Regions from separate parts of the Homo sapiens genome. Here regions 1 and 2 are each linked to region 3. The links are contacts of gene promoters, found by promoter capture Hi-C in blood cells and fetal thymus (Javierre and others, 2016). All regions are on one chromosome and are shown on one strand. The core of a region is centred on a gene start or on the middle of the fragment in contact, and the rest is flanking DNA. Distances in the headings are between cores, read along the strand shown. Region 1 overlaps ZDHHC17 (zDHHC palmitoyltransferase 17). Region 2 overlaps NAP1L1 (nucleosome assembly protein 1 like 1). Region 3 holds the start of BBS10 (Bardet-Biedl syndrome 10).

Region 1 (4,159 bases), core at 1,137-3,636, 450 kb after region 3:
CCATCTGCTGGCAATGTTAACTAATTACATTTTTAAAAAGTTATTTTATGATTTTATAGGGGAAACTGGTTTTTCTTGCCATTTTGTTATTCACTTGGTTATATATTTTTATGCTTATGCCCTCTTTTTATTATGAACAATAAGCATTCCTTTAAAGATCCTTATGATATGCCTAGAATTTAGAAGAAATCACTACCTCAGGTTTTCCTTTGTTGCCAAATTTTTTTTGCCTATTTCTATGGCTGTAACAAAATGCCTTTATTTTGCAAATGTAATTTGGGGTGAAATAATTTTTTTTAAAAGGAGCTTTATACGTATGCTTTTTGTTTTATTTTGTTTTAAGAAGGTTCGTTAGTATTAGGTAGAATTTAGAAATGAATCAAGTACCCGTAGAGACCCAAAATACCATAAATTTAATAGAATTAAATTTGAAGGGCAAGTCCCTTCCATTACCCTTCTTTCACAATATTCCTGAACTCACTATACTTAGTATACTATACTATACATCTGGGATTAGCATAGACGCAACAAGTCAAGGGCTCAGTCCCACAAGACTGAAGTCCCCACTTCAGATGCCAGTCACAAATCAGGCCTCCAGTATTTCTGGACTGACTGGCTATAAATTGGGTTCCCATGACTCCCTCCTCAGATTTGATAATTTGCATAAGTTGCTCACAGAACACAGGGAAACACTTTACTTACATTTTTCAGTTTATTATAAAGGATACAACTCAGGAACAGCCAGATGAAAGAGATGTATGGGAGGAGGTCTGAGTAGGGGAGTGTGGTTTCCATGCTCTCTCCAGGCATACTACCCTCTCAGAACCTTAATGTCTCCACCAATCCAGAAACTCGTCAAATGTTGTTTCAGGAGGTTTTATAGAACTTAATATTCAGCACCTCATTCTCCTTTCTGGAGGTCAGTAAGAAGAGTTGAAAATTCCAGCTCTCTAATCACTTGGTCATTCTAGTCACCAGCCCCCTCCTGAGTTTATGCTATATAGGCTCCACTCCAGGTCACTTCATTGGCATAAACTCTGGTGTAGTCAAAAGGGACCTTTAATGAATGACAAAAAACAGTCCTATCACTCAGAAATTTTAAGCATTTTAGGAGCCTTGTGCCGTGAACCTGGGACAAAGACGGATTACACTTATACCACAATAGGTCTAGCATTTTAAAAAGTTAACTAGTTTGCACATAGACACTTGGCGAATAGTTGATTGGTTATATAATCCCATCAAGGTATGCAAATAAACATGTATTATGGCATCTCTCATTGGCATATAAACTAGTATTTGCCCTATACCTGCTGTATAAGATTGAGTCTTGTCATGTTGATTTCTCTTTGCTGCAGTGTTTATCGCAGCTCAGCTTATCCCAGCTCTTCCCATTCCTGTCTACTATTCCTGTCTACTATCTGCTACCTATAGTAGCAGATTTTGGAGGTAATTTCTCTCCTTCCAGTTCTCTTCAAAGCCAGGACTATTAAAACAAACAAAAAAACCTTCTGACTGTCAACTAGATAATGTTAAGAATCTTCCAAGTGACTATAATTTTAAAAAAATATATGAAATCATTTTATGTTCCCCTTAGAACTTGGAGAATGTCTAATCTAGAAGTTTCAGAACTTTTTTTTTAGAAAGCAGCTAAACCTTTAATTGAAGAAATCTTGTATAAAGCTGCATGTCCTGGGGTTCCTACATAAGCAAACCCAAACCCAATTCAATGAAAACAGTGACATCAAACTTAAGTCTAACTAGAGACATTATCAGTTAGAAATCACCAACTGACCTCTAACTTGGGACCTTTTACTGGATCATGATCAAATAAGGCAAATGCCTAGCTAGCTATGGCTGATCAAGTAATTGCTTTGCTTCCAAGTTCAGCCTGTTGAAACCCTCTGCTCATGCTCTGAAGCTGAGCTTGCTGAACCTCTTTTGGTTATTAGTGTTGTCAGATTCGTGAGTTGTCCTTTGCTCAGATAAACTCTGCTAAATTTAATTTGCTTAAAGTTTTTAATACCCAGTATCTAAAAACAAATAATGAAGTGCTTTGTTTAAGACGGGAATGAGGCTGAGTGCAGTGGCTCCTGCCTGTAATCCCAGCACTTTGGGAGGCCGAAGTGGTAGATCACTTCAGGCCAGGAGTTTGAGACCAACCTGGCCAACATGGTGAAACCCTGTCTCTACTAAAAATAGAAAAATTAGGCAGGTGTGGTGGTGTGTGCCTGTAGTCCCAGCTACTCAGGAAGCTGAGGCAGGAGAATGGTTTGTACCTGGGAGGCGGAGGTTGCAGTGAGCTGAGATCATGCCACTGCACTCCAGCCTGGGTGACAGAGTGAGGCTCTGCCTCAAAAGAAGGGAATGAGTGTGTGGAGTTTGAAATCTCTGAGCTCTTCCACTTTTACCTTGAGGCACCTCAGAGGAACTTTTTGCTTATTTTATCCAAATCCCGTTTTACGAAGGAGAGATCTGTACCCTATAGTAGTTAATTGACTTGTTAGGTGTACCCTAGGTAGGGGAGTGGCGGACTTTTATTCATTAGCCTCTCAGTCGTGGATTTTTTTCTATTATACCAAGCTGCTTCTAATGGAATTACTGCGTTCTTAAAAGTTACAATGACACACATACATATTTTTAAATTAGTATTGCTTTTCTTGGTAGAAATAGCAATTAAATTGCTTCTTGGTTTCCATTAACATCGAGGAAAAATTACAGGATTTTATTTTATTTTTTTGAGACAGAGTCTCACTCTGTTGCCCAGGCTGGAGCACAGTGGCGCGATCGTGGCTCACTGCAAGCTCCACCTCCTGGGTTCATGCCTTTCTCCTGCCTCAGCCTCCCGAGTAGCTGGGACTACAGGCGCCTGCCACCATGCTGGGCTAAATTTTGTATTTTTTAGTAGAGACGGGGTTTCACTGTGTTAGCCAGGATGGTCTCAACCTCCTGACCTTGTGATCCACCTGCCTCTGCCTCCCAAAGTGCTGAGATTACAGGCGTGAGCCACTGCACCCGGCCAAATTACAGGATTTTAAAGAGTTTAATGAACTAAATATTTGTATGTTGAAAATATATTTAATATATAATAGCAAATTTTTAGCTTAAAAATTATTATCTATGTTAGATATGCTTATTTATATGAACATGTTAAAAATATGTTTTATAATTAGAACTGTTACTCCTAGGCCTATTGATAGTTGTGATTATCTTGATAGAGTGTTGTCATTTGTCACATTGACAAGGTACTAGTCCTAGAGATAAACCAGTATCCAGTCTGTTTAAAAGTGAGAAATAAAGTTCTTTATTACAAAATTTGTTAGGTAATAAAGCAGGTTGGAGATTTTCATATATACCTTTTCTTTAGTGAGTATAACTCTGCCACTGTAGAATTATTTGAGATATGTTTAGTTAAAGGCATATTTTAAAAAATAGATACCTTTTACTAAGGAAATAAAAACAACCTTATCGGAGGCACAAAACAGATACTTACATAGGTTAATTTTAATATGTTACTGGAAAAAAAAAGTCTAATTTCCAGTAACATTTTTAAGCTCGCATTTGGCAATGTCAGTGAAACAAACTGAGAATACAATTTAATCATTATGTACAGTAAATGAGGTCTCTGGGCATGAAAATAAAATTAAAGTTTCTTGAAAACTTTATGATAGTAATCCTCAGAAAGAGACTTATTTTTATTCTATGAATATTATTGGTATGTAAAAGCAATGTATTTGTCCATAGTAAAAAAGAATAGCATTTTGCCGTAGCACATTTTCAAAGTTTTTTCAAGTTATGTTATTACCTTTTGGATATTATGTTGCCCTCATCTGTGTTTTTACTTATTATTGGAAGGCTCTTGCTTATAATATTTGACTTATTTTTCTTCTCTACTTTGTCTTTCCATTCTGGATTGGAAGTCCTTCAGGATGACAGGCTATATTTTGTATACATGCACAGTGATGCTCTGAGCTATAGTGGAGCCTGAAGCAAAAGGAAGAGTTAGTGATTCTGATGCTGTCTCTGTTTTAAAATGTTGATGTTTGGTTCATGGGTGTGTGTGTGTGTGTGTGTGTGTTTTGTTGCATTGGTTTTGTTTTAAAAATATTCCATTAAAACGTTGTTGTTTTTGTTGTTGTTGATCTTGATTACTGCGTTTTTT
Region 2 (4,172 bases), core at 245-2,744, 280 kb before region 3:
CTCCTGCATACTTTAAATCACCTCTAGATTACTTATAATAATACTATATACCATATAAACGTTATGTAAATAGTTGTATTATGCTGGGCCAGACAAAGTGGCTCATGCCTACAATCCCAACATTCCGGAAGCCAAGGCAAGAGGATCACTGGAGGCCAGGAGTTCAAGACCAGCCTGATTAACACAGTAAGAATTCTCTATTAAAAACAAAACAAACAAACAATAGTTGTTATGTTCTATTGCTTATTTGTATTTATTATTGTGCTGTTATATTTTATTGTTTTTTACCCTAATATTTTCCATCTGCAGTTGGTTGAATTCATAGATGCAAACTCATGGATGCTGAACCCACAGACACAGAGGGCCAACTGCAGTTAGAGAATCGTATGTGGCCCAAAATGCTGAAAATGTTTACCACCAAGCCTTTTACAGAGAAAGGTTTACTGACTCTGGTTTTCAAGCACAAGACTCCCCTCTGACTTCCACCCTCCCAGGGCTAACAGGCATCCAAAATTAAATAATAAGGAAGGGGGAAATCAAGCTGTCACAACCAATTTACTCTTTTTAAAGTTTAAAATGAGAGTTGCAAAGTTAAGATGGCAGATGCCACAAACTCATCTGATCTTAATCCTTCTAAAATCTCCACTAAAATTATGATAAAGGGTTTTTTTGTTTTGTTTTGTTAGCAGGCTAACACTGAAATCAAAGAAAACAAGGGCAGCAACATTTTGGAAGCTGGAAACCAGACAAGTGATAATTTCATTGAGAGAACTGAAATCTAAGATTAGCAGTGGGGAAAGCTGAGAAGCAGCCCAATCAGTCTTCAAAAGGATAAGAACTGGTAGCACCAGGTACATTTCTAGAACTAGGGCAAGGGGTGGGACAGGAGAGAAGGTCGCTAAAACAAGAAAGTAAAAACTGATAAGCAGTTAAATCATTAGATCTTCTCTACACTAGCAGAAATATTCAGTTTCCTCTCAGGAAAGGGTAAAATTCAGAACTTGGACTGGAAGACAACAGACACAGTCAACAGTATCAAAGATATAGGACTATGTACACATTAGAATGCTAAATGTAGAGCCTCCTCTACATTTAAAGGAACACCAGAAGCCAGATCTTTACCCAGACACTGTTCAACGATGAATCTGACTAGCCCAGAAAAAAAAAAAAATGACCATTCTAACACTGGGGTTTCTAACAAATGCCCACTCTGGTGACCCTACACTGAAATCCCAAATTAACAAGCCTCCCCACTCCAACGCTCAAATTTTCCAATCAATTTTCTTTTTTAAACATGTCTGAAGTGTCCCTACACCCCACCCAATCCAATCTTAATGAGCAGCCAACCAAGTATTGATTTATATTTGAGGAAAGCATCCTAGATTGAGACCAAAACAAATGAGAGAAAGAAAATGTAAGAGCAAATGGACTATAAAGATGGAAGAAACATCCAGAGAAAAGACATTATCATCAATGAAACAAGAAGAGGATGCTATTTAAAAAAAAAAAAAAACAAAAAAACAGGAAGAACGAAGCAGGTCTTGGAAACTAAAACAACAGAAATTTTAAAACTCAACACAAGCTGAAAGTCTTCAGTTCTGTCCAGAAAGAAGAGCAAAGAGACAGAGATGGAAAATAGGACAAAAGGTCATGAGAGCAATCCAACACACAACATCTAATAGTAGCTCCAGAAAGAGAAAACAAATGAGACAATCACAAAGTTCAATCAAGAATATCCCTGAACTAAAAGCCACTGAATTGCTGCACTGAAAGGGTCCACCACTGAATATGTAACATTAAGAGAAAAAAATAATAATGTGAAAATTTCAGAACTCTGAAGCCAGAGTAGCTTCCAGAAATGTATATATAGTGTAAATGTACATATTTCTTAATTATCACACACAAATGGTTAGTTACAATGACTCTGAACTTCAACACAGCAACACTGGAAGCAAGGTGACAATGGAGCAATGCCTTCAAAATTCTGAAGAAAAATGATCCCATCTTACTATCCTACACCCAAACTATCCGGCATAAAGGTAGAATAGTCGTTTTCAGTCATGACATGTCTTAAAATAATTTAGCTCCCTTGTACTCTTCCAAGAAGGTACTAACAAACCGAGAAAGCAATGTGAGATATGGCAAACAACAAACCCAAGAGGAGAAACAAGGTGAAACCTCAGGAAGATAGTAAAATAGATCCAATGACAGCCATGTCACCAAGGTTAAGCAATCCAAATTAGAGGTGTGACACAGGAGACAATCACTTTGGGAACCATTATTATTAAAAATGCCGTTTCCACTCTTCTCGTTTTTTTTAATGCTGAAGACAGAATGCATAAGTCACTCATCTGTTTTTTTTTAATGCTGAAGATAAAATGCGTAAGAGTGGCCCAAATTCTTATTTGTACTTCTATGTGTTGATCTTGTACTGAAGTTTCCAGCCCTCCCACTATCATTCGCTGATGCCTACAACAGCTATGGAAAATAATTTAGCATCCCCTCACTCCCAAGTGCTCTATTTTAACACGGGCTACTGTAAAATTACACGCAACAAACACTGTGTACCTCATCCCATTCTTCCTGACCCTGTTTCTATAAAACATCCATCCACATTAGAATCCTGCCACATGCCAACTTGATTAAACCTATACTTCCCAGGACACATGACCTTGCCCAATACTTCTCCACAATAAGTCTTTTATAAAGCCTCACAAAACTTGAGGCCAGACTATGACCCAGATAGTCTTTCTTCCTTGTTATCCTATCTTATAGCCTTCAATTAACAGTGGCAAAGTGGCAATGTTGCTTTACATAGCTAACTTTGTGATCACTATTCAGATTTTCAAAATTAAACACTGATTATTTATAGGTGGTAAAGCTCTGAAGGAAAGCAAAGAAAAGAATTAGCAAAAGCCAGGATAGCACTTACATGTCTGCAAGGGAAAGGTGCAATTGAGAAGGGGCACACAAGGCTTCTGATAGTAATGTTCTATTTTTAACTTGTCTGAATATTCCTTAAGCTCTATATATAAATACATTTTATACACATTTTGGGTGTTTGGTACATTACAATGCAAGCAGTAAATCTTTGGGAAATATATACAATAAAAATGAATTCTGCAAGTATTTATAATCCATTATCATGCTCAGCATTTTCTTAAAAATAGTGACAAATGGTTTAGTATATACGATGGTTTCGAATATATGATCATAAATATGCTAATGATCATATATTCTATATTTTACCTTGAATACACTGCACTAGACTTTTGTAAAAGTAGGTACTAAGCATTAGTAACTACATTTTCATAATATATAATTCATACTACTTGCTGTTAAGAACAGAGTACAAAGTGATGCCAAATCTCTGAAAAAGAACCAACTCTCTGCCACTTACTTGTCAATGTCTGCCATGTTGTAAGAACTCCAAATATCTATGGAGAGAAACATCAATGTTAAAAAAAAAGTATATGATTTATTAAAAAAAAATAAGAAACCAAAACCCTTTAAATCAATACCATACTGAAAACTATCCCAAGAAATGTCTATTTCCTTTAAAATACTATCAGTGTTAAGAAGAAAAAACTCATGGAACATGCAAATTCTTCCTTACTAGTACCAAAAATAATTTTTCAGAGGATATTACTTAAAACAAAAAAGTTACCACTAAGCTTTTAGAATCTGTTGTATAAAGACTATGATAATAGCACCATTGGTTAAAAACAAAACTAACATTTGCTAGAATCATAGGAAAGGAACAGTACAAAAGGATCTTCATTCAAATTCTTTCAACAATCAAGAAAGGTCAATTTCTGCTTAAATTTTTAGACTACGTAGCATCTTAAATCCATTTATCCATTTCGTATTTAGCAATATTCATTTTATGTAATTCATGTTTAAGAAAACCAAAATCTGATGCCTACTGTACTCACTATGCCCTCTGGATATCTTTTTAAAAGACTTAATCCCTGGATCAAATAGCCATTTAGACTATTTCAAAAGCTCTAGGTCCCAATCTTAATGTTAGGTAAGCCTTCCCTATCTCTCCAAATGTACATGTACCTCATGTTAGATAACTGACAACCACCAACCTCCAGCTTCCCCTAGATATGCTAGGGACATTGTCAAGACTTGTGGTTACCAGACCTGAGTAAGTTTACTGTTAAGAC
Region 3 (3,900 bases), core at 392-2,891:
TGCACTGGTCCACAAAGAACTATAGAGTGTGGTATAAATGCACATGTGCTTATCAAGCCTAGATGAACATATCTTTTGGATCTAAGGATAAGAGGTTTACAAAATTTCACCAAAGCAGTGTTAGGTATTTCACACTGCGAAAAGGCCTGTGGTGGTACAAATGGAGAAAGACCAATGATCCTCCGGATAAGAGAAACTTCTTCTGATGATAAACACTCAACCACTGATATGCCATTCACCCCTGCATAATAACTAACTAAATCTGGTTGTTTCACACTAGATATGAGCAATTTTACATTCTGACTATGTAGATGTTTCATTATTGCTTTTGTCTTTTCCATAATCCAAAATTGAGATGTCTGAAACTGTGCTTCTGAATTTAGAATAAACTCTGATCCAGAAGTGGAAAAAAGAGGCTGAATGGTTTCTGTTACTATCACCATTCGCATGTCACCATCTGCTGGGCGGTACACAGAAAAATCTTTCTGAAGCACAAGACCAGCTATGATCCTGGAATCTGAAACAGGAAGGCCAGTGACACCAACATTCAACTCTACAAAATGGTCATCCACTAACTCAAATACACCAATCCCACTTTTACAAGTCATACACTTGAAAAAGTAGTCACACATCAACTGTGAAATAAATTTATGATTATTTCTTCCCACTCTTCCACAAAAGTATGCTTCTAAGAGCAACTCTAAAGAGCTCCTACACAATGTTCTCTCTTTAGCAGACGAAAAGATAGACAAAAAGTGTCTACTTAGGTACTGGTCCATAATACCGTCTAATATTTGTGTCTGAAACGTTAGGAGAGCCTGGGAAATAAATTTCCACCGAGAACAATTTTTCCAATGCCTTCCATGGGTTTGAATGTTTTCACACATCAAAGGATCCTTTTCTCTGTCTGTGATTGCATGAAGTCCTCTAAGCAAATGGCAAAGAAAGATAATAAATGTTTTTGCACCATCTCCTGTTTTTTTGAGATGACTGGAAACACAGTCCACTATCATCCTGTACAAAAAAGAAATAAAGCAACTCATTTTCAGAAGGCTGGCTTCCCACATCTTAAAACCATGTTTACACAGCCATAAGCATAAAATGAGAATATTGTTCCTTGGATACATCCTTAGTTTTTTCCTTTCTTGGAAAAAACTCTGCTCTATTCCAAGATTCCACCGTTGGGTGGAGTGGGGAGAAGTGGTCTTGAGAATTGGTAAGATTTGGGGTGCAGGAGTGTTCCCTTGGGCAGGGCTCTAATTCCGAGCATACAGCGGTTTCACCCGAGGTCAGTCTTTCTAAGTACGCATCGCCTCAGGATGGGACAAGAGCTCCACAGAGGCTGCCTGGGGTGCCCGGCTACGGGTTAGCGTGTGGGACGCGGGTACCTGGCTATGGGATGCTCTAAGTGTAGCGCCTCCAGGAGGCGGCCTCCATTCCGGCTGAGAAGCACCTCGCCAGTGGGCTTCGTACACAAAACTTGCCGTCCCTCGGGCCCCACGCAGCAGCTCACGATGGCTTCCAGCACCTCGGCCACCTGCAACGCCGCCTTCACAGACCCTGCAGCGGCCATAGAACTTAACATATCTGGGCCGCTTCCCCTTTTTGACCAGCTTGCAGAACACCCGGGCCGACCGAAAACAGGGGTGGGAACGGCCGGAAACGGAATAGGCGGGGAGAAAACCCGGAAGCCAGGAGTCGAAGCCGGGGTAGCACGGCTTCTTGGTTGGGCGAGAGGGCTGCCCTTCTGTCCGCCTGGTGGAAAAGCCCTGCAGCTTTGCCAGGTGGGGTGAGCTGGCCCGTTGTACGCGAAGGCAGAAAAAACAGACTAGGATTTCCAGCAGCTGTGCCTGGAGCGGCAACCCTAAGCCCCTCCCCGGCTCCCTAGGTGAATTCATCTCCCTCCAGTGGCGTCCGCTGCCCCCAAATCCCTTAGTCTCCCGAGAAACTTTCTTCCTAAGTCAACACGGTAGTGGGGCCTGCGTGAAGGAGAGGGCACCCCGGTTGGAACTCTGCTGGCTTTCATCCCCTGCCAGAAGCTGCTTTTTCCGGGGCAAAACCTCTGCCTTGGATTCACGCATGTTCCTGTCCACATTCCCCACGAGTTGCTCTCCTTACCATAACGGAAATAATTTGTAGATGCAGGACAGGTGAGGAGAGCCTGGCCACAGCCATGAATTGCAGGCTTTATGTCTGCTGCAGAGGCTTTACCACATTTCCTAGACTCAGGTATCACAATAAAACTCTAGACACCACAAATATATTAAGCAGAAATGATGCGAAGTCTCTATTTTTTGAGATGGACTCCCGCTCTGTCGCCCAGGCTGGAGTGCAGTGGCGCAATCTCGGCTGACTGCAACCTCCGCCTCCCGGGCTCAAGCGATTCCCGTGCCTCAGCCTCTCAAGTAGCTGGGATTACAGGCATACGCCACTGTGCCCCGCCAATATTTGTATTTTTAGTAGAGATGGGGATGTCACCATGTTGACCAGGCTGGTCTCGAACTCATGACCTGAATGATCCACCTGCCACGGCCTTTCAGAGTGTTGGGATTACAGGCATGAGCCGCTGTGCAGATTTAAATCCATTAATCACGTCGGTGATCAACAGTATGCTTTAAAACACATGGCCAAGGATTATTGTATATAACCCAAAGACAGAAAATACTGTCTCTTATAACATTTTTTTTGTTTTTTAAGAGATGAAGTTTCACTCTGCCGCCCAGGCTGGAGTGCAGTGGCGAGATCATAGCTTACTGCAGCTCCGCATTCCTGAGCTCGTGATCCTCCTGTCTTAGCCTTCAAGTCGCTTTGTGCCTCACTACGCCTGGTTATTTTCTCTTTTAGTAGAGACAGGGTCTCCCTGTGTTGCCCAGGCTGATCTTGAATTCCTGGCCTCAAGTGATCCTCCCAACTTGGCCTTCCAAAGTTTTAGGATTACAGGCATGAGCCACCTTGCCTGGCCTAAAACACAGGCACTTGAGAGCATGGGCTTTGGATTCAGACCTGGATTTGCTCTGTCATTTCCTTACCTGTGGCATTCACCAAGTAACCTCTTTGATCTCTGCTTTTCTCATCTTTAAAAACAATGGGCCTGCCGCAGTGGCTCATGGCTGTAATTCCAGGACTTTGGGAGGCCGAGGTGGGAGATCACAGGAGGCCGAGAGTTCAAGACCAGCATGGCCAACATAGCAAAATCCCGTCTCTACTAAAAATACAAAAATTAGCTGGGCATGGTGGTGCATGCTTGTAATCCCAGCTACTCTGGAGGCTGAGGTATGAGAATAATTTGAACTCGGGAAGGGAGGTTGCAGTGAGCCAAGATTGCACCACTGCACTCCAGCCTGGGCGACAGAGCGAGACCTTGTCTCAAAACAAAACAATCCCCGCCAAAAAAACCAGTGGAGATAACATATACAAAATAAAAATCTCAAGAGGTTTTGAGTAGGTGGAGAATGTTCACTAAACACTTTGCATAGTGCCTGGCATAGTTAGCACTCAACAGATATTTATATTACACCTGTTAGAGGAAAAGGGTCCCAATCCAGACCCCAAGAGAGGGTTCTTGGATCTCATGCAAGAAAGAATTCAGGACGAGTCCATAAAGTGAAAGCAAGTTTATTAAGAAAGAGGAATAAAAGAATGGTTACTCCATAGGCAAAGCAGCCCCAAGGGCTGCTGGTTGCCGATTTTTATGGTTATTTCTTGATGATATGCTAAACAAGGAGTGGATTATTTATGCCTCCCCTCTTTAGGCCATATAGGGTAACTTCCTGACATTGCCATGGCATTTGTAAACTGTCTTTGGTGCTGGTGGGAGTATAGCAGTGAGGACAACCAGAGGTCACTCTCGTGGCCATCTTGGTTTTGGTGGGTTTTGGCTGGCTTCTTTACTGCAACCTG

What was found. The method cuts DNA at HindIII sites, captures the fragments that hold promoters and counts their contacts. A CHiCAGO score of 5 or more calls a contact.
Region 1: a contact is called between a fragment that was not itself captured here and the fragment with the promoter of BBS10 in region 3, in 1 of 17 cell types (neutrophils). The highest score is 6.7, in neutrophils.
Region 2: a fragment that was not itself captured here is called in contact with the fragment with the promoter of BBS10 in region 3 in 4 of 17 cell types (M0 macrophages, M1 macrophages, M2 macrophages and 1 more); the score reaches 7.3 in M0 macrophages.

Annotation. Positions count from the first base shown.
Region 1 is chr12:76,791,167-76,795,325 of GRCh38, forward strand. The region is part of intron 1 of ZDHHC17 (zDHHC palmitoyltransferase 17); the gene reads left to right. Among named protein-coding and RNA genes, the nearest start is that of ZDHHC17, 29 kb to the left of the region's middle. The HindIII fragment of the contact is 6,806 bases long and covers 1-4,159 here.
Region 2 is chr12:76,070,803-76,074,974 of GRCh38, forward strand. NAP1L1 (nucleosome assembly protein 1 like 1) reads right to left here. Exons shown (of 15, transcript NM_004537.7): 2 at 3,401-3,437. The coding sequence starts at 3,417. Among named protein-coding and RNA genes, the nearest start is that of NAP1L1, 12 kb to the right of the region's middle. The HindIII fragment of the contact is 4,355 bases long and covers 1-3,672 here.
Region 3 is chr12:76,346,774-76,350,673 of GRCh38, forward strand. BBS10 (Bardet-Biedl syndrome 10) reads right to left here and starts at 1,642. Exons shown (of 2, transcript NM_024685.4): 1 at 1,389-1,642; 2 at 1-1,014. The coding sequence starts at 1,585. RefSeq lists enhancers at 948-1,897, 1,898-2,847, 1,994-2,043. The HindIII fragment of the contact is 11,737 bases long and covers 1-3,900 here.